7 separate regions of the Homo sapiens genome follow, and regions 1, 2, 4, 5, 6 and 7 are each linked to region 3. Evidence: promoter capture Hi-C in 16 types of primary human blood cells and fetal thymus (Javierre and others, 2016). All regions are on one chromosome and are shown on one strand. Each heading gives the region's core, a stretch centred on a gene start or on the middle of the fragment in contact. The rest is flanking DNA. Distances are from core to core; before and after follow the strand shown.

Region 1 (4,319 bases), core at 1,126-3,625, 610 kb after region 3:
GATAGATAGATAGATAGATAGATAGATAGATAGATAGATAGATATAGATAGATAAAATTACAATCACCTCCAATGTTCAAATATAATGCTGTCCTAAAAACATGTACAAAGGTTAAGTGTTTAAAATCTTAGCAATCCCCATATATATCACTAGGGAGCTTCTCTTCTCATAAAGAGAAAACATTTTTACGAAGTTCCTCATTCCCCTTGCCTTAGATGTAATAGTGAGTGCCATGTTTCAGCTCAACACCTGTTCTTTAGAGGTGCTGAATCTGAAGACTAAACAGGAAGCCATTGGATTTGCCTCCCTTGAGCATCCACATGGGCCACGGATGCGCCTTGTTGTACAATGACATTCATCGTGGTTACGACAACAGTGGTGTGAGACACCTTTACTTATCATCTCTGGTTTTAGCAATTTCCTGTTTTCCCTACTCATTTTTATAAATAATTATTCAAAAATACAAAGCACATTCCAATACTTGCACCAACGAAAGCCAGAGAACTACTAAGATGGTGCCGGGCCCATCCCGATCTCGGGGGTGCAGAGACCAGGTGGCAGCTGCACTCCCAGGCAGCAGTTCAAATTCATCTGCTGGCTGCTACGGCAGGGGTTATCCTCTAACACACAGCAAGTGCAAGAAAAAGTATATGCCGTTCTCCTTTCTTTAAAATATGCCTCTCTTGCACTGTTTTATTCCAGCATTCAGTGGAGACATGGGTGTGGAGAAGGAGTCAAGATTTCTCTCTACTACAAGGAAAGCTGAATCCTGAACAAAACAATAAATGGTAACAGACACGTAAATTCACGATCAAGGATCCTGAAGGGCATGGCAGAGACAATGGCGTCTGTAGAACCCATGTCCTGTTGAGAGGGCAGCTGCCCCTCAGCGCCACGGGTCACTGCCTGGGGAAGCAGGGGACAGCACAGCCAGATCTTTCCAGCTTCCAAAGGAAGCCGAACAATTTGGACTTTATAAATGTAAAATCTCCCGATTTTAAAATGTCTTTTAAATGTTTAATGTTTTTAATTATTAGTAAGCCGGGCGCCGTGGCTCATGCCGGTAATCCTAACATTTTGGGAGGCTGAGGCGGGAGGATCAGTTGAACCCAGGAGTTTGAGACCAGCCTGGGCAACACAGTGAAACCCCATCTCCACAAAAAATACCAAAAAAATAGCAGGGTGTGGTGGTGCATACCTGTAATCCCAGCTGCTTGGGAGGCTGAAGTGGGAGGATCGCCTGAGCCCAGGGAGGTCGAGGCTACAGTGAACTATGATCGTGCGACTGCACGTGCCTGGGCAACAGAGCAAGGCCTTGTCTCAATAAATAAATAGTATTTAATAAATAAACAAATACTATGCAAGTTAAACCCAATAAGCCAGCAGCCTCCAATTGATAATTTCTGAAATAAACTCATATTTTCAACTGCTTTTGTGACTTCTCCACTTGGATCTCTAAAAGGCATCTCAGACCTGACATGTCAAAAATGAAACTCTCGATTCCAGCAGGCATCTCCCCGCCCCATCCACCCCCACACCGACTCCAACACACCTCTGCTCCTCATCACATTCACAGGCAAGTCAGTGACCAGAGCATTCATTCACCACCCAGCCCATGCACAAGTCTCGGCTCCCTCTGCCCCACCCACCTCCCCAACCATCCTTCAGCATAACTCTCTGCTTCACCCACCTCCAGCACCATCATCTCTGTGAAAGAACAGGCATTGTGACACTGTGATGCACACCTCTGGTAGAGACAGCCGTGATGGCAGACTGTGTGGGCCATGGTGGATGTTGTTGTTGTTTGCAGTGCACACCAGCCTGGAAATGCTTCAGCCTGGAGGTGACGTGTTGTTTCTACTCATATCTCATAGCCCAGAGCAAGTCACCTGACCTTGCCTAACTTCAAGGGGACAGGAAATCTTCATCAGCACTCGTAATATCTACCACAGGGACAAGTAACTTCTACCATTGCTAAATTTTGGGTTTTGCCAGTAAAGAACACTTAAAAGTATATATCCACCACTACCATCTATTAGATCAACAGCGGACAAACGATGGCCCAACGGCCACAGTCGGCCCAAAACCTCTTTGTAAATTAGGGTTTACCAGCACACAGCCTGTTGCTTGTTGTATATATTGTCTGTGGCTACCATTGGCGCTACAACAGTGCTGAGTAGTTGCAACAGATACTTCGGGTCCTGTAAAACTGAAAATATTTACTTTGGGCCTTTACAGAAAAAGCTTGAGCACCCCTAGGCTCATTCATTCACTGTCACAATTATCTCATAAAAGAACATTTGGGCCGCGCAAGGTGGGCTCACGCCTGTAATCCCAACACTTTGGGGGGCCAAGGGGGGTGGATCGTTTGAGCTCTCCTGAACAACATGACGAAATCCTGTCTCTACTAAAAATACAAAAATTAGCTGGGCGTGGTGGTGTGCACCTGTAATTTCAGCTACTCGGGAAGCTGAGGCTGGAGAATTGCTTCAACCCAGGGGGCAGAAGCTTCAGTGTGCCTGGATCACGCCACTGCACTCCAGCCTGGGCAACAGAGCAAGACTCTGTCTCAAAAAAAAAAAAAAAATGGAAAAGAAAAAAAAAAAGAACATTTTTAACTGAGAAGGTAGGGAAATGGTATCTCAGAATAGAGGCTCACCCTTAAATCAGATCTTGATGGAAAAGACGTGATGACTTTATTTTCTTCATATATCTGCAAAAAGAGGAAACTTCAGCAGAGGCTGCTGTGGGGCACAGACAAGTGTTTGGGGAGCCCTGGACTGTGAAATCCTTTAGGGATTAAAACTCAGAGGCTGGGAAGGAAGCGGCAGACAAGTGAATTGGGCCGCGTGGGGCCGTGGGGCCGTGGGGCCAGGACCGTGGGCAGAACTCAAGCCCACCTGAGAGGCGGGGCCAGGAAGCTGCAGCCAATGGCTGCCGTGGGGCGGGGCTCCAGTACAGTCTGACCTTCTGATTTGCCCAAAGAAGATGGAAACACATTCTCATCTTGTCATATAATTCCCAATTTAAGAAACAAAAAAAACACTCTGAAGGACAAATTTCATGACTGTTGTTTCCCCCAGAGATGAAGCTGGGGAACAGAAGTGACCCTATAGAACAGCAGACTCATCGAGTTTACCAGTAATGTTTCATTTCTTTATTTTTCTAAAAAAAATGACACGAAGCAAAAATGACTGGAAGCCACTAAAAGGAATGAAGTCGTGATACACGCTACAACGTGGATAAGCTCGGAAAAGAGGCCAGAAAACACAAAAGGTCACCTATTGCATGGTCCAGTTGATACAAATCCAGAAGGAATCAACCCTTAGGAACAGAAAGCAGATTCACCGTTGTCAGGGGCTGGGCAGCGAACAGGAGCTAGACGCAGAGATAGAGGCGATGGCTGTATAACATGGTGAAAGTGCTAAAGGACCCTGAATCGTGCACTTTAAAACGGTTCATTTTATGTCATGTTAATTTCACCTCAAAAAACATGACTGTTGTCAACTCTGGGTGATGTGCGTGAAATTATTCTTTTACATATTTTTCCCAATTTCTGATACACATATTGGAATATATTTTACCCACTGCACGGGTGAAATTCAACACAGTGCAGGGCCAGGACAGGCCCTTGAGGCACCGGTTTGCCGCGGTAGATCTCCATCATCCACGGTGCCCATCGGGTCACCTGGTCGTCACTCCACCGGCGGTCCCCACCCGGGAGACCTGCTTATCTCTCCCAGCCTCGGGAAAACTGCTCTGGTGGGATCAGAGATAAAAATAAATCTGCAGAATGTTGGGCCAGACACGAAAGAGAACAGGCTGTATGATTCCATTTATATAAAGTGCAGAAACAGACAAATCTGATCAATGCTACAGAAGCCAGGATGGTGGGGTCGTTGTGCGGTGGTGGTTGGGAGGGGCATGAAGGGGGTTGTGCTGGTCACTTCCTGTTTCTGAATCTGGATGCCGGCGGCACAGATGTGTTCAGTTTGTGAACGCTCCTGGGGCTGCACAATCGCGCATGCACTGTCCTGTATTACTTCGGCTTTAGAGAAGTTTTTAAAGAAATAATAAATGCATAAATCCATCAGATACATTGAATTTCCTGCCAAGCCTTTGAAATAGAGGCCCAGGCCTTGGCTTCAGGTTGCAAGACACCCGAGAGTTGAGTTTGTGGGATGTTGTACAGACGTGGGTCTCAAAGGCTTATTATAACTTTTTTTATGCAAACAGAAATTACCCCAGCACATCTGGAGACCAAGCTCCTAAAGCGGGTGTGAGTGCAGCTTGTCACTGTACCTTCGCAGCACGAGGA
Region 2 (3,893 bases), core at 742-3,241, 550 kb after region 3:
CCCAGCTACTTGGGAGGCTGAGGCAGGAGAATGGCGTGAACCCAGGAGGCAGAGCTTGCAATGAGCCAAGATCATGCCACTGCACTCCAGCCTGGGTGAAAGAGTGAGACTCCGTCTCAAAAAAAAAAAAAAAAAAAAATTTCAGTGCCAGTTAGAGGAGAACCATGTTTAAAAGAGAGAGGGAAAGATGATTTTCCTCAGCCAATGCCCTTAAACTAATTAAAAACAGCACCCTTCTTCATCCAATTACTTCCAGTAATTTATTTTAACAAATCAAATTGCCCCCAAATTCAACTTTATTACTCATTTTTTTTGTTGTAAAAGGAAACCCTCAAGAAGCAACAATCTTCTGCCCTCTGCTTGCCTAAGCCATTTGAATCCTGCCCGCCTTGCTCCTTTTACGCCTGCCATGTTCGTTTGAGGAGATGGGAACCCCAGCATGGCTCCTCTGAAACATGTAGTTCAGAGATTTGTGCAAGCCACCATTATGCTCCAAGCTCAAGCAGAGAGAAGATTCTTCTCTGCACATGCTGTACCTGAGACCTTCCCTCTTCTTGGTAATTTCAACTGAGAGAGTAGCCAAGACCATAATGTGAGATGGAGAGCAAAGGATAGCGTAAGTTGGCAAAGTGGCACTCTCACCACAAGTGAGGCTGTCATTCTTTGATATCACGCAAACACGTATTTACAGGACCATCAAGGAGGGTAACATTTTAATAAAGTTGACTTAAGCCTCAAAGACTTTGGGGATATTTGTTACTGCAGCATAACCCAACCTCCCTGACTGACACACTACTGTCTCCCCTTCTGCCTCACCTCACTTTGCCCCTGTCAACAAAACCCACTCCTTAAAAAGCAGCATGTTAATTAAATTCACATGGGACACTGAATCAGGAGACATTTCTTACAATAGTGAGGTGAAAGAAATAGAGAGATTAGGATTAGGAACATAGACAGAAAATCACAGCTTGAGATCTCACTTATCAAAACATTAAAGAAAATAAGAATGAAGCCAAATACATGTGGGTAAAGCTAATCAAGCTAGAGGCAGCACAGGAGACTGAGATAAGCCAAGAGAAATGGAGAGCCGGGGGGAAACCACAGAATCCCTGTAGATTTAGAGTGCAGTGTGATTAGGTATCATTTGCTGCCAGGCACAGAGCCTGGAGTCCACAGGGCAAAGGAAAGAAGTGCCCCTCTGGAGGGCTTCTCTGCCACTCAGATTATTCCCTCGCTTGGCGGATGTGTTAATTTGCTAGGGCTGCCACAACCAAGTCCCAAATTGGGTGGCTTAAACTATGGAAATGGATTGACTCATGGTTCTGGAGGCCAGAAGTCTGAAATCAAGGTGTCAGCAGGGCTGCTTCCTGCAGTTCCCAGTCTCTCTCCATGGTTCGTCGACTGCCATCTTCGTATTCACATGGCTTTCTCCCTGTGTACCTGTCTGTGTTCAAGCTTCCCCTTTTTATCGGGACAGCAGTCATCCTGAATTGCGACTCACCCTAGCAACCTCATCTTAACTAGTTACATCTGTACAACTTTATTTCCAAATAAGGGCACATCCTGAGGTAGTGGGGGTTAGGACTTCAACATATGAATTTAGAAAGAGACACAATTCAACCCATAATGGAGGGTCTCGTTCTCTGGGTACTGAAGATATGCAAGGGTCCCAGGAGCTTCCAGGGGTGTAAGAGGCCAGGCAAGGAAAACAGAACAGCACAAAACGTGAGTGATGATGTACACAGGCAACAGATGCCAGGGCCAAACAGAAGGCATGCACGTCCTAAACGGGAAGCTTCTTAAAATTTGGGGCTCTGCAAAATGCCAAAGCAGAAGCTAAAAAACTAGCATCGAGCTCATTTGTGGTCCTCAGATTGCTAATTATGATGGTAGCAATCCCAGTTGTGGAAGCCACCAAGCCTGCTTGAGTATCCTGCCTCACTCTCCTTCCAGGCACAGGCTTCCAGCTAGGTGTGGCCACATGACTTGCCTTCCCAAGATGAACAGAAGTGACGGATGTCTCCTCTGGGTGGAAGCTATAAAAGCCAGTCCTATTTTCTCTTTTCTTCCGCCACAGTGAGCAGCTGCTCTGTTCATCTGGGCCACAGAGAGAGGAGGATCACGGCATGAGTTAGAGTCCCTGCCAACGGATGGTCCCATATGAGGAAAAAATCAATCACCATTGTCTTAAGCTTCGGAGGCTTTAGGGCCATTTGTTACTGCAGCATAACCCAGCCTCCCTGACTGATACACCCCCATCTTTCCCACTGTTCCCACCCCACCTTATCCCTACCAATAGTACCTGAATTTATCTCAGAAGGGTGGACCCATCCCCAGCCCCAGAGATGAATTAAAACCATTTCTTCCTTTATGTGTAGATGGGTTTTCTCCCTTGGTTTTCTGACAATCATGTCACTTTCCCCAAACCAGAAACTTACCCTCTTCTTGTCAGCTTGGTCATGGCTGTGAAGAGGCCCCTCATCCCTTCTGCAGCCCCTTCCAATTCAATCTCCCCAGAATCATCTCTGAAAATGGCCTTGGAGCCCTGATTCCTCCATTTGGAATCATCCAGTGGCTTCCCTAATGCAGCCCAAGAGCCTGGCCTGCCTGGCCCCTGCTGACCCCTCAGCCTCCTGGCCTGGCCTCCCTGCCCAGCTCCATGCACACAGCCTCCAGTGAGCTTCGACTGAGCCCTCTCCCTCCACACAGTGGTGGCACATACTCTTCCCTGCATCTGGGTTGTTCTTTACCCTGCCTTCTCTTCTCAGCTCCTTAACTCAACTCTTACTCTATTTTCTTTCTCCTGTAAACTCCACACTCCTCAAAAAACAGCTCTCCTATCCCTCCATCCTCTACAGAGCATCTGCCTGCCCCTGCTACCTGGCAAGTCCCATGAGGCAAGGGCTGCAATGGATGGAATGTTTGTGTCCCTTCCAATTTATCCTAACCCCTAATGTGATGGCTTTAGGAGGCAGGAGGTGATTAGGTCATGAAGGTGGAACCCTCATGAATGGAATTAGTGTTCTTATAAAAGGAATCCCAGAGAGCTGCCTTGTGCTTTCTTCCACCACGTTAGAGTACAGTGAGAATACGGTCATCTGGAAACCAGGAAGAAGGCCCTCACCAGATACTGAATCTGCTGACACTTTGATTTCAGACTTCCCAGCCTCCTGAACTATAAGAAATAAATTTATGTTGTTTAAGCCACCCAGTTATAACAGCCCAAACTCATTAGAACAGAAAAATACCAAAAAACAATGTGTTGCTGTAACAAATATCTGAAAATGCAGACAGCTTTGCAACGGGGTAATAGGTAGAGGCTGGAAAAGTTTTGAGGTACATGCTAGAAAAAGCCTAGAATTCCATGAAGGGAATTTCGAAGGTGGTTCTGATGGGAGCTCAGAAAGATAAGAGGAGTTTCCATCTTCTTAGAGAATACCTAAGTAATCGTGGGTAAAATGTTGAGAGAAATATGGATGGCAAAGGGCATTCTGGTGAAGTCTCAGATGGAAATGAGAACCATGTTATTAGAAACTGGAGGAGAGACCATTCTTGTTATAAAATGGGAAAGAATGTGGCTGAATTGTGTTCATGTTCTAGTGTTTTGTGGAAGGTAGAACTTGTGAACAATGAAATTGGATATTTAGCTAAGAAAATTTCTAAGCAAATTGTTAAAGAAGTGGCTTTATTCCTCCTGACTGCTTATAATAAAATGTGTGAAGGAAGAAATAATTTGAAGATGGAGTTATTAGGCAAAAAGGAACCAGAATTTAAAGGGTTGGGAAATTGCCAACCTATCCCTATTGCAAAAAAATGAGAAAACTTGTTTGGAGCAGAATGCTAAGGATGTGGCTCAGTGACTATTTGATAAGAAGATTAGTACAAATATGAAC
Region 3 (4,415 bases), core at 1,172-3,671:
GCCACCTCCATGCCCCACCCACTGAGCACACACTGCAAAGTCCACTCGGCGGGTTAACTGGGGGTCCTCAGGGATCCCACCAGCAGGGTGGCTGTTTGGCTGCTTCTTCGGGTCCCTGTTGAAACCAACAGACAGTAGTTAGTTTTGAGGCTTACTTACAAATAAGCTGACAGTCAGATGAGGAAGACCCATGCTTCCGGCCAGCCCCTTGAAATTGTTGTCAATGAGTCCCCACTGGGGCAGGGAGTCTCTAAGGACAGGAAAAATGGGGGCCCGAGGGCATCATCTGCCAAGACCTAAGGCAACTGTACCCATACTTTTGCCTGTGTGTCCTCAAAACCCCTCTACTTTATCATGATTCTTCTTCCAGAGAACTCTGTCCTTTGAGGCAAGTCTGTAAACCAATGTTTGCTTTTTAACATTTTGACAAGGGACAGTTGCGGGGGAATCATTACCGTCCTTCCACGCTGTAAATGCAGGTAATGAAAGGATCGGATGAAGGTCGTTGGTGACTCACTGCTCTGACGTTTTACTTGAACTAGCTGTTTCTCTCCCAGAAGACTCAGAACATAAGCACCTGGAATGGATGGGTCGCATTTAGGACTCCAAATGAGTTCTGCTTTCCCTTTTTGTTTTCAATCTATGTGCTCTTTCAGGTACTCAAACCTGTTACCGTTTTATCAGCAAAATGGGACTTTCTACCAATTTGGTGGGATGAGTCTCGCCGGGAGTGATGTGTGTGTCACGGAATTGTGGTCATGCATCGGGATGGCTAATTCACTGATGTCAGATGCTAACGAAGTGGCCTCGGCTACTGAGCATCACGTCACTGTTGGGTTTAGACACAACACGATCTTATGTATGGATGACAGCACCACTAATAACAAATGCCAGTGACCTAAACGGGGAATAACTTCAAATGAAACAAAAAGCACCTCATATCATATTTATCCTGAAAGACACAACTGGCTGAATAAAATCTGAATACAGGAAACATAGCAATGGGTTGATAATTTTGGTGGAACTTGATGATGTGTGACCCACGCCCAACACAGTGTGACCCAAGCCCCCAGGAGGGTTCTCTAAGTGAGTTTGGTCGGAGGCTGCCATTCACAGTGACTTGTATTTGCCACAGCAGCTCTTTCTAAGCCCAGTCCTGGGATTATCTCAGGGATCATCCCACACCCCAGCGGGGAGATGGGCCAAGTCCCCACCTGACCTCATCTTAGGTAGAGAGGCTTCCATGGAAGTGTGGGCTGGCTGTGGGGGGTTGAGACCTAGCCCCGTTCTTTTGACATTTCACCCTGTGTTCTCCAAACTCCAGCAAGCAGCTTCCATAGCTCATTAAATTTGACTGAAGGTCTGATGGCTTGCAAAGCAAATTCTTTACAACTGTTATAAAGGTTTCATTGCTTAAGCATATAATCTAGCAAAACTGCCAAGCCCCCTCCACTCCCTAAACTCTAAGACTTGCCAGGGAAGAGAACAGTGGCCAGTGGACTGCAGGAGTAACTGCACTCAGCCCAGAACTCCCTGGAGGACACAGGGAAGGTTCTGGAAAGGTGGCGGTACCTCACAGGGAGAGACGTGGTGCTCCAGGGCCCAACTTGCTCATGTTCAGATCCTCACTCTGCAACCCACCAGCCGGCTGTGAGTGGCTACACAATCTCTGCCTCAGTTTCCCTATCTGTACATGGGTTGTTCATAGCCTCCACCTCAGAGGGTAGTAATGATGCCAAGCTCTTAGAACAGTGCTCAGCATGTGTGCATCCTGTGCCTACTCTATGCCAAGCACTACAGAGAGAAAAATGAACAAAATAGGGAGAAATCCCTGCCCTCATGGAGTTTACATCGGGGCAGGGGGCGGGGGCGGCACAGAGCAGACAATCAATACAGTGATTAGCCCCCAGTTAGGTTAGGCATTTCCAATCTTTGCCAATAAGCCACATATTTGCCCAAGTTAGGGTGCATCCTTCCCATGAACTTTGACTGTGACCTTTGACTATGGGGTGACATCTTATAGCTGTGGTGTTTTGCCAACCAGCAGCTCTTGGTACACAAAATGTGCTGCTAGCAGGTGCCCCGGCCAACCTTGTCCTTGACCCACCTGCCTGTTAAGAAAAGGGTGTTGTGTTTTGCAACAGCAGTAAAATGGGTCAAGGTTTAGTCAGTTGGAAGTTGTGTCAAAACTCACTATGGTTGGTTGAGGGCTCGAAGTCTCCCAGCATTCATTAACAACTATCTGTTCAATGATTATCTCCCTGGGGCGTGTTGCAGTGAGTTGGCCCAAAGCATAACTGACCCTGGCCGTGATCCAGAGACCTGCCCCCTGACGTCAGTGGCGAGCCTCCCTGGGTGCAGCTGAGGGGCAGGGCTATTCTTTTCCACAGTATTTAAAGCTGGGAGGTTCTGCCACCAAGCACGGCCTTCCCACTGGGAACACAAACTTGCTGGCGGGAAGAGCCCGGAAAGAAACCTGTGGATCTCCCTTCGAGATCATCCAAAGAGAAGAAAGGTAAGTAGAGCTTTGCATTTACATTTTGAAAAATTACAAAGATGAACTCATTTTTTTCCTGAGAGCAATAACTATTTGGCAATGCACAGCCCTGGCAAAAGGCCGTCGAATGTGTTTGAAGGTGTCTGTTGTTGTTTTTGTTCAGGACGCTTGCGTTTTCTATTTCAGGTGACCTCACATTCGTGCCCCTTAGCAGCACTCTGCAGAAATGCCTCCTCAGCTGCAAAACGGCCTGAACCTCTCGGCCAAAGTTGTCCAGGGAAGCCTGGACAGCCTACCCCAGGCAGTGAGGGAGTTTCTCGAGAATAACGCTGAGCTGTGTCAGCCTGATCACATCCACATCTGTGACGGCTCTGAGGAGGAGAATGGGCGGCTTCTGGGCCAGATGGAGGAAGAGGGCATCCTCAGGCGGCTGAAGAAGTATGACAACTGGTAAGCTCGGCCCCCGCTGCCTGTCCCAGCACCCTGCAGGCAGGGCTCCCCTGCGTCTCCTGGGAGTTGGTGGAGAAAGGTGAATGAAGGCCTTCGGGTAGTTTCAGACTCTTGAGAAGATGAATGCAATGGTCAGAACCATACAGACTTGAATTTTGTGACATTAGTGGGCCAGCCCAAGCTTTAAATGAGGTGTGTGCACAAAAGCTCTGCCAACTAGATTCCTGATTAAAAAAAAGGCAGCCCCTCTCCTACAGACCAGGTCCTAGTGGAGTAAATGTCCACCTGGCCATGTCTTAGATGGTCTGTGTGTTCACACTGATGGACTGTTGTTAGCGTGCTCAGCACTCTGCTAGGCATGGAAAGCCACGGTACTGAAGGAGATGGTTCGCTGCCCGTGGTGCTTGGCTGAAAGGAAGCCTGTGATTTTTGCAGCTGGTTGGCTCTCACTGACCCCAGGGATGTGGCCAGGATCGAAAGCAAGACGGTTATCGTCACCCAAGAGCAAAGAGACACAGTGCCCATCCCCAAAACAGGCCTCAGCCAGCTCGGTCGCTGGATGTCAGAGGAGGATTTTGAGAAAGCGTTCAATGCCAGGTTCCCAGGGTGCATGAAAGGTGAGCGGAACATTGATTTGATTGGGTAAAACAGCAGAGAGCCTTTTCTTATTTACATCTATCCTAATGGTAATTCAAACAATAATGGAAGCTCCCACCACCTCAGATGTCTTTCAGTTCCATACATGAAGTTGGCAATGTATTGAAAATGCACATCCCTCTTCTGCTTTTACAGACTGTCTTATACAAACGTGAAAACTAGTTCCATGCATATGGGTTTTAAATAGCTTGGTGGGACCCAATTGCACATTTATGAAAACTCTTTAATTTCAGCAGGCTGTTCACTTTCCAGTGGCCTCTTCTAACCCAGGGGGCTGGTGACCAGCAGGGTGTGGTGGTGTTAGTGGAACACCGTGAAAATGGGTCTACCTGGGAAAAAAATGCTGGTCGTGTTCGAAGTCCAAGGTCATTTCTCACCAGTGCCCACCCATCGCACCCTGTAGGTCGCACCATGTACGTCATCCCATTCAGCATGGGGCCGCTGGGCTCGCCTCTGTCAAAGATCGGCATCGAGCTGACGGATTCACCCTACGTGGTGGCCAGCATGCGGATCATGACGCGGATGGGCACGCCCGTCCTGGAAGCAGTGGGCGATGGGGAGTTTGTCAAATGCCTCCATTCTGTGGGGTGCCCTCTGCCTTTACAAAGTAAGTGTATTATTTCAGAATCAAAAGTCAAAATAAAAAAGAAAGCTGAACGCAAACCCCAGTGAGTGCCTCGGGGACCCCCAAGCAGGGCCCTGGCGCACTGACTTGGGAGGGGTCCTTGTTCACAGAGCCTTTGGTCAACAACTGGCCCTGCAACCCGGAGCTGACGCTCATCGCCCACCTGCCTGACCGCAGAGAGATCAT
Region 4 (4,230 bases), core at 1,148-3,647, 590 kb after region 3:
AGGAGGTAAATATAAATTGTATGAGCCCCAAGGTTACAGAATCAATCATTTCAAAGAATGAATGATTACAAAGTCTATCACTTGCAAGAATAAAACTAAAGAGCATGTTGTAGGCAAAGATCACTAACTCCTAAACCAGAAGGTTCCCGCCTTTCACAGATTCCTGGGCACTGACCACATGCCAGGCATGTTCTAGGTGCTTCGGCAGAACCAGATGATCAAATCTGGACAAGAACCCCGGTGCAGAGACAGGTGTTGTTTTATGCCCATTTACAAATTAGGAAATTGAGCTCCAAGACCTGCAAAGTCACACAACTGATAAGGACCCTACTCAGGTGAGAAGCAGGTGGGTCTGATGCCACAGCCACCTGACCTCAGACTTCCCATCTGTAAAGTGGGATGAGAGTCCTCACCTGCCTAACTGAGCGACTGTGAGGTGCAGATACAAGAAGGCTATGGACACCTCACCTGGCCTGGAGGCCAAGTGACATATGAGGGATTCTTGGGAAAATGCTGTCGGTATTCCCTAAAGATGACAAGTCCAGAAGTCTACAGGGACCAGCTAGGTGACAGAAACAGGAGACAGGGCCAAGCATAATTAATCAGAAGGGGTGGAGACTCAGGCAAAGAGGCCACTGGTCCTGTCCAAAGAGGCAGCCAGCATGAGCCCAGCCAAGTGAAACCATATGGGAAAGCCAACTGCATATTCCCATCACTCAAGAGAGTCCAGAAAGCCAGATGTTTACATGAAATTTTCTGAGTCTAGAAATGAAATGCTTATGTGGGTTCTGGTGGGGTGGTGGCCACCAATCTGCAACCTCTCAAACTTCAGGACAGAACACAAGAGATGCAGAATTAATTAAAACACCACATCAGTCAAAGTATCTATGATTCACAGCAGTGTAAAGCCCATTTGTAATTCATCCCATCCTACGAGCTTTGAAATTATGCTGTTCTTAATGAGGGTGTTTTTAATTCTTAGAGGGTTCCACAGTTTGAAATTTTATGCATAGAATGAGTTCTTATTAATATAATATGCATAAGGAGTCTATATTAATATTCTTTATATGTAATTAAATTGGGTTTTCAAAAAGCTTGATATTGCTTGAAAAATTAAAAAGGGGAGTGGACGCTCTCCTCTAATATTTTAAAGTTCGGTCCTGAAAACTTTTTGGCATTTTTTGTTAGTTTGTTTGTTGTTGTTTGAGACAGGGTCTGGATCTGTCACCCAGGCTGGAGTGCAGTGGCATGATCTCAGCTCACTGCAGCATCCACCTCCAGGCTGAAGCCATCCTGTCACCTTGGCTCCCAAGTAGCTGGGACCACAGGCACATGCCATCATGCCCAGCTAATTTTTGTATTTTTTGAAGAGATGGAGTCTTGCTAAGTTGCCCAGGCTGGTCTTGAACTCCTGAGCTCAAGCAATCCTCCCACCTCGGCCTCCCAAAGTGTTGGGATTACAGGCATGAGCCACCACACTCAACCCTTTTTGGCATTTTAAAACTTGAGTCCGTAACTGGTAACGTTTTCTCAAATTCCCCCACAGGGGATGTAAATCAGGAGGCTGTGGTGAGCAGCAGGAGGGGATGGAGATGGGTCTCAGCTTTGGGTGCAGCAGGCCTGCGTTGAGGTCCCCACCCTACTTTCCTAACGGTGTAACTAAGACAAGCCTCTGCCTCCCATTTCCATGCCCCACTTCTGTGTCTATAAAATGCGCCTTCTAGGGGAAGCAATGGGGAGGACACTCCCCCAGCTTCACCTGAGGCTTCCCGTCTCTGGGGATTCTGTTTCAGTACATTTCCCCCAGCTTCACGTAAGACTTCCCATCTCTGGGGATTCTGTTTCAGTTGATCAAGTGTGAAGAAGATCTCCCCACCCCAAAGCCCAAAATCGAGCTTCCTGAGCGTTTCCGCATCCGGCCGGTGACCCCAGTGGAGAAGTACATCAAGGTTTGAAACGTTTTTAAATACTCATTTTTTTAAAATACTCATTTTCCTAAGTAAGAAATAAGCCCCAGTGGAAACTGATGGCTCCAGATGTGCAAAGCCAGCACTGAAGGTAAGAGCACAGCAGTGCCAGGTGCAGAGTCCAGGTCCACGTCCTTCCCAAACCCAGCCATGGGAAACATGCCAGGCTAAAGTCTACAAGTGCAAGCACCATGACCTCCTGCTCTGCAGAAGCAGAGAGAAGGCAGGAAAATGGGGTCTTCATGCGTTCTTTCAGCAAACATTTCCAGGGTGTGGGCAGGAAGGCAGGGCAGACCCAGGCAGGGACTCTGGAATCAGACCACCAGATCCCTGTGCTGATAGGCTGCTCACCTTCTGTGTGGTCTTGGGCAAGTGGCTTGACCTCTCTGTGTCTCCCCTGCCTGTCTTATACAATGGGGGTTAATGAAGCACCTACTTCAGGGAGTACCCTCAGGGTTCAGCAGGCTGCCCAGCATGTTTAGAGAGTGCCGATGACAGTCAGCTATTACTAAGGTGCAACAGCTTGGTTGGGAAAACAGTAATGAACAAGAAGGCAAGACCCCAGCCCACATGTCTGGGTCTAGAGAACCAACATTAACCAAGAAAATCAACACCATTTGGATACGCTATGCTAGCACCATGGAGGAAACAGGCCGGTGGTGTGTCACAGGATAAGAGAGGGCGGGGTGGTCAGGGAAGGGGCCCTTTGAGCTGAGGACTGAAGGATGACCAGGCACCAGCCCTAGGAAAAGTATTCTAGGCGCAGGGAACAGCATGTATGAAAGCCCTGAGATAGAACACAGGCTGCTATGTTTCAGGAACAGCAAGGCAAGGCGATGCGACAGGAGCTTGGGTGGAGGGTGGGGGCAGGAGGAGAAGGTGTGGGTGGAGAAGGGATGTGAGTGGAAAAGTGGGCAGGCTAGAAGAAGGAGTTGCAATTGGAGTCCAATTTAGAGAAGCCGCTGGAGGGTTGTAAGCAGGGCCATGGAAAGGCAAGACCTGCCTATTGGAAAGATGGCTCTCATTGCTAGTGGAGAAAAGATTGTGGGGAGAGGGACAGGAGTGACCAGGCCAAACCCAGAGAAAAGAGGCCTTAGACGATGCTCTCACCTGAAGCCTGCACCACGGCGGACATGGCTCAGATCCCTCTAGAAACAGTTGAGCTCCATATGTCTCATGGGTCTGTCATTTTGGCTGGGAGTTCTGCCCTCTGCCCAGCTATGGAGAAGGTGGTTCTGCGTGCTGATGGGGAGAGCAGATGAAAACCCAAGATGAAGGCCGCAGGGCAGGAGGAGTTCAGCTGCAGCCTTTTGCCTGGCATGCTCGTGGTCTGATGGGGTAGCTGGCACATAGTGAGCATTTGGGGGGTATGCATCTGTGAGCCCCAATGAATGAATGAATGAATGAGCTCCACTGAGTTATGTTGACAGTTTTTACCCCAAATATAAAGCAATATAGAGTCACTGCTAAAAAATATTTAGAAATACACCAAAATATAATATAATTAAAACCCACATATAGGCTCTTACCCATGATTAACATTTTGGGGGTGCTCCTTCCAGAGGTTTTCCTACACATCCCTTGACCTGTAAGAGTAACCACCCCACCAGCTCAAGCTATTATTATCTCTTAGCCGCTCACCGTGGTGACTGCTTTACATTGGGTGTCTCATCTTACTTCCACTGCAGCCCCGGATATTATCATCCTCAAACCCATTTTGCAGATGGGAAAGCTGAAGCTTAAAAAAGCTGAATTCCTTTCTCTGGCCACACAGCAAGTGTGTCTGATTCCAGAGCCCTGCTTTTAAATGTTACCCTCAAATATTCCTCAAATGTATGTTCATGTATACGTATATACACACTTGTGCACATACACACATACTTTTTAGGTATATGTTTACAAATCAAACTACACAGGCTGCTTTGTAATCTCATTTTTCCACCTAACAACATACCCTGGACATCTTTCCATGCAGTTTAAAAAAGCACTCTAAATAGCTATTATATTAATGGCTGTGTTTTTCTCCACTGTGTGGATCTGTCATAATTTATTTAACCATCCCCCTATTCCTGGCCATTGAGGTTGTATCCGGCATGAGATTTGGGAGAATAATCGTGCAAGGAACACCTTGTAGACACAGAAATTTGCTCTGAGTCCGTAATTTTCTTGATATTAGTGCCTACAAAGGTGATTGTTCAGATGAAATGCACACATTTAGGGAGCTCGCTCTCCTGTGGCCTAGAACACTGGGCTGGCCGGAGAA
Region 5 (4,139 bases), core at 1,117-3,616, 530 kb after region 3:
GATTACATGTTAGTGGGGGATACAGGTACTAAACCAGTAACCCCAGAAGCAAGCAAGCTCATTATCGTGAGTTGTGAAACCTGCCGTTGACTACAGAAAGCAAGGGATGTCTTGACTGCCCTAAATCATGGTGCTCTCCATTCTCCTCTCTGATGGGAGGCTGGATCTCAGTCAGATCTCCCTGGGAAGAGAGGTCAGTACTGAGCAGTTCAGAGCCCAGACTCGGGGGGCAAACTCTAATCCTTGTTCTGCCTGTTACAATTTATTTGACCTTGGGGAAGTTATTCTGAAAAACCAGAATATCCTGATTTGCATAATGAAAATAATAATAATGCCCACCTCATAAGGTCCTTCAGAGTAGAAAATGAAATCTTACTTTAATGCCCAGGGAGCACTGACTAAGTGTAGCTCCTATTTGACTCATGTGCACCCGCGGTGCTGCATGGAAGGAGCTGGTCTGGATCCTTTCTAACTGGCCCACTAGCGTTTATGTGCAGACGGGTTGTGTTCTACAAGGGCAGGGTAACACCTGCAAACCCCCGTCCTCTCTGGAGGGTTGGTAGGTCAGCACTAAGGACAGTGCCATGCATGAGGAGACATTATCAGTGTCCTGCCCAATATCCAGATTCCTTCTTCTTGGAGAACAAGTTCCAAGCTGGATTCGGGTAGTAAAGGCCCACATGGGCCATGATCTGTCTAAGCTGATCCGAGATCCTGCTTCCCTCTTTCCCAGCCTCCCTGGCAGCTGGGAGTGGCCATGTAACTCAGTTCTAATAAAAGTCTGATGGTAGCTTTTCTGGGAAAGCTTTTTTCTGTTAAAGGAGTGATGGGCCTAGCACAGCTCTTCCCCTTTCTTCCACCTTGAACTCAGATGTGATGCCTGGAGGTATGGCCATCCTCATGTGACCCTGAGGCAACAAGCATGAGGAAGGAAAGCCAATATGCTCAGAAGGGTGAAACAAAAGATAGGAAAGGCCGGATCCCTGAGGATGTGCTGGGCAACCGAGCCCAGAACCAATAGCCCACCTATCCACGGCCTCGCTGTGTGAGGCAGTCAGGGCAGGCGGATTCTCCAGGGCCTGCAGTGGAATGCATCTTCAGGGATTTGCTTTGCGTGGCCCTTAAGCATCAGGTCTCATCTCAGGTTCTCAGCCTGCAGCTGAACACATCTTCAGGGATTTGCTTCGTATGGTCTCAAGTATCAGGTCTCATCTCAGGGACCTTTCTCAGAATGGCCCTTCCCTCTCAGGACCAATTCCAAGCCAGAGGAGAAGGTCATTCTTCTCTATTTGCTCAGAGAGTGGATGGACCATTAAGAACAGGAAACTTCTTATCAAGAGGGAACCTATCAGCCTAGACGTTTTCTACCTTCCCAGGTCCTGCATTGGACCAACCTGAAAGAAGATATCAGGGAAATTAAATATGGTGCTCTCATCCCTGCCCCCACACCAAGATTCATGATTGGAAACACAGCATAGGCCGAGCGCGGTGGCTCACATCTGTAATCCCAGCACTTTGGGAGGCTGAGGCAGGTGGATCACTTGAGGCCAGGAGTTGGAGGCCAGACTAGGCAATATGGCAGAACTCCCCTCTACTAAAAATAGAAAAAAATAAGCCAGGCACGGTGGCGAGTGCCTGTAATCCCAGCTACTTGGGAGGATGAGGCAGAAGAATCACTTGAACCCGGGAGGTAGAGGTTGCAGTGAGCCGAGATGGTGCCACTGCACTCCAGCCTGGGCAACAGAGTGAGACTCCATCTCAAGAAAAAAAGAAAGGAAAGAAGGAAAGAAAGAAAGAAGGAAAGAAAGAAAGAAAGAAAGAAAGGAAGGAAGGAAGGAAGGAAGGAAGGAAGGAAGGAAGGAAGGAAGGAAGGAAGGAAGGAAGGGAAGGAGGGAAGGAGAAAAGAAAAGAGAAAGAGAAGAGAAGAGAAAGAACACTCAGCATAGCAGTGACCACAGAAAATAATTCTGGGAAACGGTGGATTCCCGAATTCCTGTCTACCTTCACTGAAGGACTTACCACCCCTCTGTTCAGGGTTCTTGTTTATTTACTTATTTATTTATCTTTGAGACAGGGTGTCTCTCTGTTTCTCAGGCTGGAGTGCAGTGATATGATCATGGCTCAGTGTAGCCTCAGCCCCCTGGGCTCAAGCAATCCTCCCACCTCTCAGCCACCCAAGTAGCTCGGACTACAGGTGTGTGGCACCACACCCAGCTATTTTTTTGTATTTTTTGTAAAGACAGTATTTCACCATGTTGCATAGGCTGGTCTCAAACTCCTGGGCTCAAGTTATCCACCCGCCTTGGCCCCCCAAAGTGCTGGGATTACAGGCGTAAGCTACTATGCCTGGGCAGTTTATTACTTTTAAAAATTCATGGTGGTTGGCCAGCCACAGGAGCTGCAAAATTCCTAGAGCTGGAGGGAGCCATGCTGCAGAATTGTATTGCTATCATGCTTCAGAGGGGTAGGGTTAGCATACCCAGAGGGGCAGCCGAATCCCATGTGTCCTTCTGGTGTCATCACACCCAAACTCCCAGACTGCACTCCAGTGTGCTCCGTATCATGCCCTCAACTCCCTTCGCAAATCAGCCCTGGTCTCTGTCCTTGCTGCACTGGGCCATCCTTGGCTAGAGATACAGAATTCTTGGCCCCCAACCCAGTCCCAAACCTGACCCTCCCCAGCCCCATCACCATAATGGGCACCAGTACCTGCCACCCAAGAGTGGGCTGAACCACCCTTGAACCCCCTTAACCTCCCCACTATTATACATCCAGTTCAGTGTCAACTCCGCCCACATTACCCCAAAACATCCATCGAAATCTTCCCCTTCTCTGGAGCTCCATGGCTTATACCCCAGCCCAATTCACCAGCCTTGCTCACCCGGTTAAAGAGGCAGCTCTGGCTGTCTGCTCTCCTCCCACTGATGTCCCCACTGCAGCCAGCATGACTTTGTCTAACTCGGATCCAAACCTGTCACCTCCTGAAGCCCTCCAGTGGCTCTCACGGCACAGGAAATCCTGGGGCCTCTCTGTGCTCCCTCTTCCCAGGACCCAGGAGCCCACGTGATCTTGTTCCCTTCCCTCCTGCCCCTCCTGTCTCAGTCCATTCAAACTGCTACAACAAAACCATGGGCTGAGTGGTTTAAAAACAGAAACATTTCTCACGGTTCTGGAGGCTGGAAGTCCAAGGTCAAGGTGTCGGCAGGTTCAGTGTCTATTGAGAGCCTGATTCTTCATGAAGGGCCATCTTCTCTCTGTGTGCACGCACGGTAGAAGGGGCAAGGCAGCTCTCTGGTACTCACTTCCCAAGGCTGTACCTCCAAGTGCAATCACACTGGGGATGAGGTGTCAGCAAATGAACTGGAGAGTGAGAACACAAATGTTCAGTCTGTAGCGGCCACCATGGCCTCTGCTCGCTCTGCTCCAGCCACCTGGCTTTCCCTCCCTTCCTGGAACACACCAACTTCACTCCGACCACTATTCCCTCTGCCTGGACTTCTCCAGGAAGAGCTTTGCGTGACGAGCTACTCTGCCTCCTCCAAAACTCAGCCCAGGAGCCCCCTCGTGAACGCCTTCGCCAGCTGAAGTTGTCTTGTTTTTTAATTTATCTGATTTTGTCAGCTTTCTCCTGGACTCCCTGCCCTCAACAAGAATGTAAGGTCTTTCAGGGCAGGGATTCCACGAACCTGCTTTCTCAGGGCCTAGAACGTGGCTTGAAACACAGAAAGTGCTCAATAAATGCTCAACATGTCAATGACTATTCACATGGGAAAACATGCAAGAAATCTGACTTAAGAAGAAACCTACAATATGCCAGTTACATTTAAATTTCAGATAAACAAATATTTTTAGTATGAGTATCTGCCATACGTATACTAAATATTTGGGACATCCTTATACTAAAAAAAAAATTGTTGATCTGAAATTGAAGCTTAACTTGGCATCCTGGGTTTTACCTCTGACAACTCTAATCTAATAGAACCATCCATTTTATGCTAAAGAGGAAGTCTCAAAGCTGGCTGGGAAGCTTCAGAGAAAGATCGAGCCCTGGGCTGCACCAGAGGGACTGATCCAATCTTTGGGTTCGAATTTCTCTGCCTGTGATTCTAATCATTCGCTGAGTTTGGGGATCGTGACGC
Region 6 (4,241 bases), core at 1,501-4,000, 570 kb after region 3:
AATATTCCTTTTGTTCACAGACCACATCCTGTGTTCCCCAGGGCCTCACCCTGAGCTGATCCCAGGATGACCTAGAAGAGGCATGTTTTACTGAAATCGTTTCTAAAACTTACACTAAAGCTACAATATCTGAACGCATGGTAAGGACACACATTTTCAAGTTTCTCTTTGGGTCACAGGTGTGCTGCTTTCTACATCAATTTGTCAGGAAGACAAATCTTTTAGTGTCGGGAAGAAAAGCAGCAAGATGAAAAAGAAAAAAAAAAGAAGATATTTCAAGATCAGATTCTTCATCCTACTTTTCTGACTTGCCAGAAGCTAACGACATCTTTCCTAGCAGTGACTGGCAACCACTCTGAAAACTTCACCAAATTATTACTCCTTTATTTTTTTGAAAAAACAGGCAAGTGTATTTAGTTGTCATTGGTTACAACCAAATTTCTCTAAATATTTCAGTGCATCTCAAAATACTATATTGATAAGTTCAAGTCATAAAAAACTGCATTAGGAGTTTTGGAAAATTTACTGGTAGGATTATGCATGTTTTTCTTCCATTTGAGTTCTCCTCTGAATGCATGTTTATTTAAAGAAAAATTGTGGTATTTGGAAGATTGAAGACTGACTTCTAAACTGTGCTGACTTCAGGAAGACCTACTTTTGGCCAGGCACAGAGGCTCATGCCTGTAATCCCAGCACCTTGGGAGGCTGAGGAGGGAGGATTGCTTGAGCCCAGGAGTTCAAGACAAGCCTAGGTAACACAGCAAGAAAAATGTTGAAATTAGCTGAGTATGGTGGGTCATGCCTGTAGTCGCAGCTACTTGGAAAGCTGAGACAGGAGAATGGCTTGAACCAGAGAGGTGGAGGCTGCAGTGAGCTATGATCATGCCCCTGCACTCCAGACTGGGTAACAGAGTGAGACCCCATCTCCAAAAAAAAAGAAGACCTGCTTTTTTCTCCTTCTATCCAGTCCCATCGAATTAACTGTTCTTGGAAAGGAGGGCACATCCCAAACTGGGGGGTCACAAGGTGATTTGTGAGGTACACGTAGCATCAAAACCACAGATACACACGCTGACAGAGCTATTCCTTTTTAGTCCTTTGCTTGGCCCAGGAGAGTCCCCAGTGGGGACTAGTCAATTTTCAGCACCTCCCCAGTGCTGCCACCACCCTTTTTAATAGAGAGAGTGAGCAGCTACAGCACCAAACTGGAATTTCGTAACATCAGCTTTCATTATTTTTATGACCATTGCCTTCCACATAGGTCAAATGGCACTGGTTTTTCACTTATGGTCATGACTTGAAGCTTCCTTTTTAAAATAACTGTATGTTTTCAAAAGTGTGTAAATGTAAAAGAAAGGATTAAGTAAATAATGGCACGATATGGCAGGTGAGATGCAAATGGCAGGTTTGGGGAAAAGGGCAATCGATAAAAATAAAGGCAGCTTGGCTCTCCCGCTCTCCCAGCGCTGCAGCTCAGAGGAAAACTAAAATTAATTCCTTTTGCAGCATGACGGGGAAAAAAAGCATCCAGAAGGAAATTCATCAAACCATTAAAAGTGATCTCCCCCAGGGAAGGGGCTTGCAGGCAGGGGGAACACATTCACATTTCGCTTTAAACACATCTGGATTATTTGAATTTTTGTATTGCATAGAAGTTAACCCTTTGTCTGACTTCTTGGTTATAAATGTTTTTCTTGGAATGCCTTTTGTTTATTGCCTTTGTGATCTCTTGGGCAGGCAAAACTTCTCAACTTCATAAAATAAAATAAAAAATCCATCTTTTCTTTATAGCTTCTGGGTTTCCAGTCTCCCTGGCCCCTAGATTGTAACTGCAGTATCACACATTTCTTGCAATACTATTATGATTATTGTGTTACTTGTAAGTATTTAATTCCTCTAGAGTTGATTTCTGTATCCATGGACCATTGGTTCCATTTTCATGTTCTCCCATTTGTCAAAGGGTTCATCCATCCTCCTGTCTTGAACATCAGCTCTCTCCGTATATACCTTCTGAGTTATAAGGACAGTTCCACTTCACTTCCTGCTTCACTAATCTAGTCCCTGTCACGACACCAAAACTGACTTGGTTACAGGACCTTTAGAGCCTATACTAATACCTGGATAGGTAAATCCTCCATCACTCTTCTCATTTTCCACATTTCCTAGCTATTCTGAGGGCATCTCTTCTTCCATAGGAACTCTAAGATTATATTTTTATTTGAGTATGCATTATTTCAATAATTTAAAAAATAAAATATTTTATTATTAAAAAGGTGGCCAGGTGTGGTGGCTTATGCCTGTAACTCCAGCACTTTGGGAGGCCAAGTCGGGTGGATCACTTGAGGTCAGGAGTTCGAGACCAACCTGGCCAACATGGCGAAACCCTGTGTCTACTAAAAATACAAAAATTAGCTGGGTGTGGTGGCGAGCGCCTGTAATTCCAGCTACTCAGGAGGCTGAGGCAAGAGAATTGCTTGAACCTGGGAGGCGGAGGTTGCAGTGAGCCGAGATTGTGCCACTACACTCCAGCCTGGGCGACAGAGCGAGACTCTGTCTTTAAAAAAAAAAAAAAAAAAACTCCTTGTCCAAAAAAAAAAAAAAGTGGGGGGAGGCGGCACCACCAGATGCTGGTGAGGATTGGAGTACCGAGAGCTCTCACCCCTGGTTGGTGGGAATGCAAAATGGTGCAGCCACTTTGGAAGACAGTTTCACAGCTTCTTGCAAAGTTACACATATTCTTTCCATACCACACAGCAATTGTGCTCCCTGATATTTACCCAGAGGATTTGTTTAGAGCAGCTTTCATCATAATTGCCAAAACTTAGAATCCACCGCGATGTCCTTGGGTTGGTGAATGGATGAACTGTAGTACATCCAGGCACTGGAATTTTATTCAGTACTAAGAAAGGAACAAGCTATCGAGATAGGAAAAGATGTGGAGGAAACCGACGGCATGTTACTAAGTGAAAGAAGTCAGTCTGAAAAGCACACACTGTATGGTTCCAACTCTATGGCCACACTAAGGAGGCACAAAACAAAGAAAAGATGCGCAAAAGACAAAAACAAACACAATTAGGGAGGCGAGTGTCCCGCTCTGGTGGGGGATGTTGATAGTGAGGGAGGCCGTGCCTGTGTGGAGGCAGGGGGTTTATGGAAAATCTCTGCACCTTCTACTCAGTTTTGCTGTGAACTTGAAACTGCTCTTAAAAAAATAAGGTCTTTTTTTTAAAGGGAGGGAGGGATCTTTTAAATTGTCTCTTTCTTGTATATCAAAAGCTAAGCTATGCCAGCATCTGAAACAGAAAGTGGCTGAGGGTACCTCTGTCACTTGGACCTCTTCTGCTCACAGCCTCCCTGAACTGGTGGCCAGGGAAGGCAGTGGGAGGAGAGGACCAAGTCTCAAACTCCAGAAGCCCCACCTCCCTGAGCTCAGCAACTCTGCCAAGCCCCCTCAGGTAAGCCAGCAGGGAGGCGGTGGGGGCTCTATAGAGTGAGCACTTCTCAGCCAGTTACCTGGCTAGGAGCCCAGCAATTCTTGCTAGAACCCCGCGGATGTGGTGCCAGTTTGAATAAGAGTCAGCTCTGGCTGATTCTTGCAGACAAAGTGAGGTGGAGCTCTCTCTTTGAGCGTTCTACTATGCACAGGACTGCAGGTGGGAAATCGCTGTCAGGAAGGACAGAGGGAGGAAAACGTTGACAGCGCAGATAAAAGGGGTCAAGTTCACGGGACTTTGACCATGTCCCAGGCATTGTGCTGTGCCTGCACTCCTGTCATCCCCCCATTCTACAGACAACTATTCAGAGAGATTAATTCTTTCACCCATGACCACCCAGCTTACGGGGGCACTTGGAGCTCACCTGTCGGCTCCAACCCCTTCTCACTGCTCAGTGCAAGAGTAAGGCAATACACTGCCGGCCCCACCCTGGAGGAAAATACTCGGCTCTGAATCTGCACCTCTCCCAAGTAGGTATTTACAAACAAAAGAACTCAGCGCTCCCGGCCGTGAGTGTTGCAAATACATACACAAAAATGACTGAGCCTGATTCATCATTTGAGAACCAAAGGGGATAAGGCTGCATTAACTATGAGAGTTTGCGTCTTCCAGCAGACAAAACAAAAAATGAGAGCCACTCTTTCTAAATGTTTTTGTATCCAACCCAGTTCCTTCCAATTTTTTGCCATTGTTTAAAAGATGTTGAAGCTTCCAAGTGCACAGCTCAGGAAAGTTTTCATCATGTCT
Region 7 (4,285 bases), core at 1,006-3,505, 630 kb after region 3:
ATCGCCTCCAACTCAGAGACATCCTTTCAAGACTACATTAGGTGAACATGGAGAGAAGAAAGTTTCCAGGCCCAGAGAACCAGCAGATGACAGGGAAGTCGAGGTAGCCCTGGGGCGTTGTGGAGCCCTGGGAGTTAGCCAAGACCCCTCCACTGGAACCACAGGTGTCCACGGGCAGCAAGTCCCCGTCCCCCTAGACTCCTAGCAAAGTTCCCACCTTAGGTGCTAAAACTCACACCTCTTCACCAACACCTACTTGAAACTCCTCACCTTCCAGAGATAATAACTTGGCTTTCAGGACAATTTCATTTGTGTTAATGGAAAAAAAAAATCCTTGGACTAAGGCTTTTAATGACCAGTCATACCTTTCTCATTCCCCAGCCCACTGAGAAAAGGATCTTGTCCATTTACTCTCCCGAAAACGATATGTGGGGTAATGTGTTCCAGGAACCTCTCAGGTCTTAATGGCAGAGAAAGCCCATGTGGGGGCCACACTTTGATTTAATGACATATACTCATTTAGTGCATGGACAGCTAAAAGCTAAAATGCAGTGACTACAAAATTACTGTCAAATTCTACCTTTTTGTTTATTTTGCTTTGTTTCAAGTTCCATATACTACCAAATGTTCTCAAAGTTAGATAAAAGCTACACATTAAATTTGGTTTCCAAACTAGGTCAATCTAGGAAAAGAAAAAGATGTTGTTGCCTTTTTAATTCTAAAATAATGTAATGAGAAGAAATACACATGCTTTCTGCTCAATACTTTCCTTCAGAAAACCACCTTTCCAACTCCAGTCAGCCCCACTCCTGCAATCATGTGTCAGTCATAGGACTCCACCCCCAACACATGCACGTGCCAAGAACCAGTCTGGTCAGTTAGAATCCTCCATCCTGGCCGGGCGCGGTGGCTCACGCCTGTAATCCCAGCACTTTGGGAGGCCGAGGCGGGCGGATCGCGAGGTCAGGAGATCGAGACCATCCTGGCTAACACGGTGAAACCCCGTCTGTACTAAAAATATAAAAAATTCGCCGGGCGAGGTGGCGGGCGACTGTAGTCCCAGCTACACGGGAGGCTGAGGCAGGAGAATGGCGTGAACCCGGGAGGCGGAGCTTGCAGTGAGCCGAGATCGCACCACTGCACTCCAGCCTGGGAGACAGAGCGAGACTCCGTCTCAAAAAAAAAAAAAAAAAAAAAAAAAACCCTCCATCCTACAGAGCCACAGGGATTGGTTCTAAGATGTGCATGTGACCCAAACTGGCTAATCAGGGACTTCGCTGAGATTTGATGCCAGGAGAGACTTTCTCCTTCTCTCTGGGGTCTTAAGCTATGAAGACCACATAAGCTAGAGCTCCTGCCTCCATTGTTCCCTGACACATGGAAGGACCTGTCTGCAGGAAAAGAGGAAGACACAGATAAATGCAGAGACAGTGGAGATAAGAGAGAAAGAGAGAGAACAACCTGATTCTATCATCTGACTCCCTGGAGCCCCTAAACCCAGGGGACCATGAACTTTTCAGTGTCTTGAGCCAGCAATGCCCTCTTTGCACTTAAGCCAGTTTGAGCTGATTTTCTGTCAGTTACACCCAGAGATGTCCTGAGTGATACAGAGAATTTCTGTCAGTCATTCACTCACTCGGACAAGAAAGACACAGTCCCTGATCCACAGCCAGCAGAACCGAGCAGAGGTCACAGTCACTAGACAAATAATTGCACAGAGTGTCAGTCAGAGACAGGAGTGACAGGTGCCACAAAGGAGAAGCTGGGGTCTTCAGGGGAGTGTGCAAAGAGGATCCCAATCCCAACTGCAGAACTCAGGGGACCTTCGCCCAGAAAGTGACCATGAGATCCTACAACAGCTCCTTCATTCCTCAGTTTTGCTTTGTAGGATTTTCTTTTTTGAGTTCAAAAGTCTTCACTGATACCACTCTGTGGGTGAAAGAGGATATGCACACGCGCACGCAGACACATGCACACATAAACACGCACACATGCCCAGAAGCACATCCCGGCACACACAGACATGCATGCACCCAGACTCACATGCATGCATGCATTAACACACGGAGATATGCACAGAGACACATGCAGAAACACACCCTGGCACCCAACCACGATTCAGCCATATCTGGATGCATTGGACAAATCGGATTCAAATTCTAGCTCCCCTGAGCTCCCGTGAGCCTCAGGGTCTCTTCCTGTAAAGTGTGGAGATGGCGGTCCCCCTCACAGGTGTGTGAGCACTCAGTGAAGATGGATGTGAGTGAAGGTTTTAGCTCCAAGCTGGTCATGGCGCTAGAAGTCACCCTCATCATTAATGAGGAAAAAGTCATGTCTGTATCCAAGAGAGCAGGTCACATGGGAAATGGCACCCTTCCTAAGCAATCTGTAAGAGTCAGCAGTCGGCCCTGCTGGAGACCCTGACAGCATCACGGGGAAGTTGGGGTCTTGTTCACCCCTCACCTGCAACCCAGGGATGGGGCCGCTGCAGCAGTGCCCAGGGACACCAGCAGAGGGCAGTGGTGGCCAACAGACCCATTTATGAGCACTTGTGTGACCCCCGCTAGAAATGCCTGGGGTGGAGAGGACATGGGGGCTTTTCTGGGATCCCGGGAAAGTAAATGACCAGGACAAGACTGGGTGACATCTAGGCTATCAATGTGGCCCTATTTGTACCCAAAGGTTGGTGCAAAAAGTGCAAAGTGCAGGTCCCATCAGTGACATTCATAATTCTTCCTTGCAGAGGGGGAATAAAACTGGACCTAGAAAGGAATGAGGTTGGGAGTGGGGGTTCAAAGAAACCCCATGAGTGTTCCCCATGCAGGAACAGCATTCCATGCCCGAGGGGGCAGAAGGCGCTCAACAGCCGAAGGAGAGCCACACATGCCGCCAGCCACATGAAAAGACCTTGGCCCCGCTCCTTCTCACCCCTGTCCAGCCCTGACCCTGCCAGACCAGGAGCACAGGCGGAGAAGGTAGCAGAGCAAGGAGGGTGGAAGACAGGCCATCATCCCAATGGCAGGACCCTGGCATCCAGTTGGCCTGGTCTGGGGACCCTCTCCCAGAAGCTGTGAGCTGGACGTGAGCTTTACGTTTTGAGTTCCAGTCACATAGATGTCTTCACAACTGAGTGTGACTGGAGACCTCGGAGTCTGCCCAAGATGTCCCCAGAGGAAGGGGGTATGGCAAGGAAAAGCAAGGCATGTCCTAGCCCAGTCACTGTCTGCGGACACACCCTGCTCCTGTGAGACGTGGGACAGGGTTCCCAGCCAGGCTCTGAATTTCAGAGACTGGGCCTCCCACCACCAGGCCACTAGCCTCTGCTGGGTTACAGTCAGACACAAAGCCAGGAATTAGATTCCTTTGCTGGCCTGGGGGCCCTCGAGCACCCTACCTGAGTCTGTGAGCACCCTGTCCTCTAAGCAGAGCAGAAGCAGAGATGCGTCCCCACCTCGGGGACAAGTCCAGAGGGGAAAGAACTTAGTCCCAGTGCAGTGTGCAGAGCCAGCCCCTCTCCACGCTCCAGGCATGCTACACACATACCTGGAGCCCCTCCCTTCCCATCTCTACCTGGCCAGATTCTTCCCATCCAGTAACGGCCCCTTCCTCCAAAGAACCCTCCTGGACTCCTTCTTTGTGTACTGCTGAACTGCTTCCTAAGTTAGGCTTGGAAATGGCCAATTCTCAATTGCTTTTGCTTAAAATCCTGGAGTTCTCTGGACTCCATTGCAGGCCCTTTTCTCTCCTTGTTGTGCTCCCTTCCTTGGGTCATTGTATCAGTCAGCTACTGCCATCTCATGCTGCCTAACAAACTGCAGGGTCTCGGTGGCAGACAACTGCAAGCACATCTGTAGTTTGTGCACTTATGGGTCACTGAGGGTCAGCTGCTCACAGTGAGGCTGGCTAGGGCAGTCAGCTCCGTGTGCCTCTCAACCTCCTCCTTGGACTAGCGGAAGAGCTGGGGCGGGTTCTTCTCATGGCAATGGCAAAACCACAACAGGAGGAGTGGAAATGTGGGCGGCTCCTTAAGGCCTAGGCTTGGAACAGGAGATTATCTTTCCTGCCTTGTTCTAGAGGCCAAAGCATGTCACATGCCAAAACCCAAGTCACATGACTCCTTAAGGCCTAGGTTTGGAACAGACACATTATCTTTTCTGCCTTGGTCTAGGGGCCAAAGTAAGTCACATGGCAAAACCTAAAGTCAAGAAGCTGGAAAATATACACCACTCTGTCCATGGGAGAAAACGGCAGAGTTACCAAAGGGTGTGGACACAGGGAGAAGACA

The links. The method cuts DNA at HindIII sites, captures the fragments that hold promoters and counts their contacts. A CHiCAGO score of 5 or more calls a contact.
Region 1: a contact is called between a fragment that was not itself captured here and the fragment with the promoter of PCK1 in region 3, in 5 of 17 cell types (endothelial precursors, total B cells, M1 macrophages and 2 more). The highest score is 6.9, in endothelial precursors.
Region 2: a fragment that was not itself captured here is called in contact with the fragment with the promoter of PCK1 in region 3 in 1 of 17 cell types (M1 macrophages); the score reaches 5.1 in M1 macrophages.
Region 4: a contact is called between a fragment that was not itself captured here and the fragment with the promoter of PCK1 in region 3, in 6 of 17 cell types (M1 macrophages, endothelial precursors, naive CD8 T cells and 3 more). The highest score is 7.3, in M1 macrophages.
Region 5: a fragment that was not itself captured here is called in contact with the fragment with the promoter of PCK1 in region 3 in 2 of 17 cell types (M0 macrophages and M1 macrophages); the score reaches 6.0 in M0 macrophages.
Region 6: a fragment that was not itself captured here is called in contact with the fragment with the promoter of PCK1 in region 3 in 6 of 17 cell types (M2 macrophages, endothelial precursors, naive B cells and 3 more); the score reaches 6.6 in M2 macrophages.
Region 7: a fragment that was not itself captured here is called in contact with the fragment with the promoter of PCK1 in region 3 in 1 of 17 cell types (endothelial precursors); the score reaches 5.9 in endothelial precursors.

The regions. Positions count from the first base shown.
Region 1 is chr20:58,170,376-58,174,694 of GRCh38, forward strand. All of the region lies in intron 2 of LOC105372694 (a long non-coding RNA gene), which reads right to left. Among named protein-coding and RNA genes, the nearest start is that of CIMIP1, 22 kb to the left of the region's middle. The HindIII fragment of the contact is 264 bases long and covers 2,244-2,507 here.
Region 2 is chr20:58,105,089-58,108,981 of GRCh38, forward strand. No RefSeq gene overlaps it. Among named protein-coding and RNA genes, the nearest start is that of CIMIP1, 44 kb to the right of the region's middle. The HindIII fragment of the contact is 397 bases long and covers 1,794-2,190 here.
Region 3 is chr20:57,558,689-57,563,103 of GRCh38, forward strand. PCK1 (phosphoenolpyruvate carboxykinase 1) reads left to right here and starts at 2,422. Exons shown (of 10, transcript NM_002591.4): 1 at 2,422-2,515; 2 at 2,684-2,947; 3 at 3,383-3,564; 4 at 4,008-4,211; 5 at 4,340-4,415. The coding sequence starts at 2,724. The HindIII fragment of the contact is 6,047 bases long and covers 1-3,126 here.
Region 4 is chr20:58,153,621-58,157,850 of GRCh38, forward strand. It overlaps CIMIP1 (ciliary microtubule inner protein 1), which reads left to right. Exons shown (of 4, transcript NM_178456.3): 2 at 1-5; 3 at 1,848-1,949. It overlaps LOC107985434 (a long non-coding RNA gene), which reads right to left. Exons shown (of 3, transcript XR_001754692.2): 2 at 3,078-3,209. Among named protein-coding and RNA genes, the nearest start is that of CIMIP1, 4.8 kb to the left of the region's middle. The HindIII fragment of the contact is 2,611 bases long and covers 1,093-3,703 here.
Region 5 is chr20:58,087,775-58,091,913 of GRCh38, forward strand. No RefSeq gene overlaps it. Among named protein-coding and RNA genes, the nearest start is that of CIMIP1, 61 kb to the right of the region's middle. The HindIII fragment of the contact is 3,126 bases long and covers 804-3,929 here.
Region 6 is chr20:58,132,040-58,136,280 of GRCh38, forward strand. LOC107987284 (a long non-coding RNA gene) reads left to right here. Exons shown (of 3, transcript XR_001754693.2): 3 at 1-1,788. All of the region lies in intron 2 of LOC107985434 (a long non-coding RNA gene), which reads right to left. Among named protein-coding and RNA genes, the nearest start is that of CIMIP1, 17 kb to the right of the region's middle. The HindIII fragment of the contact is 2,899 bases long and covers 1,302-4,200 here.
Region 7 is chr20:58,190,266-58,194,550 of GRCh38, forward strand. No RefSeq gene overlaps it. Among named protein-coding and RNA genes, the nearest start is that of ANKRD60, 36 kb to the right of the region's middle. The HindIII fragment of the contact is 5,377 bases long and covers 1-4,285 here.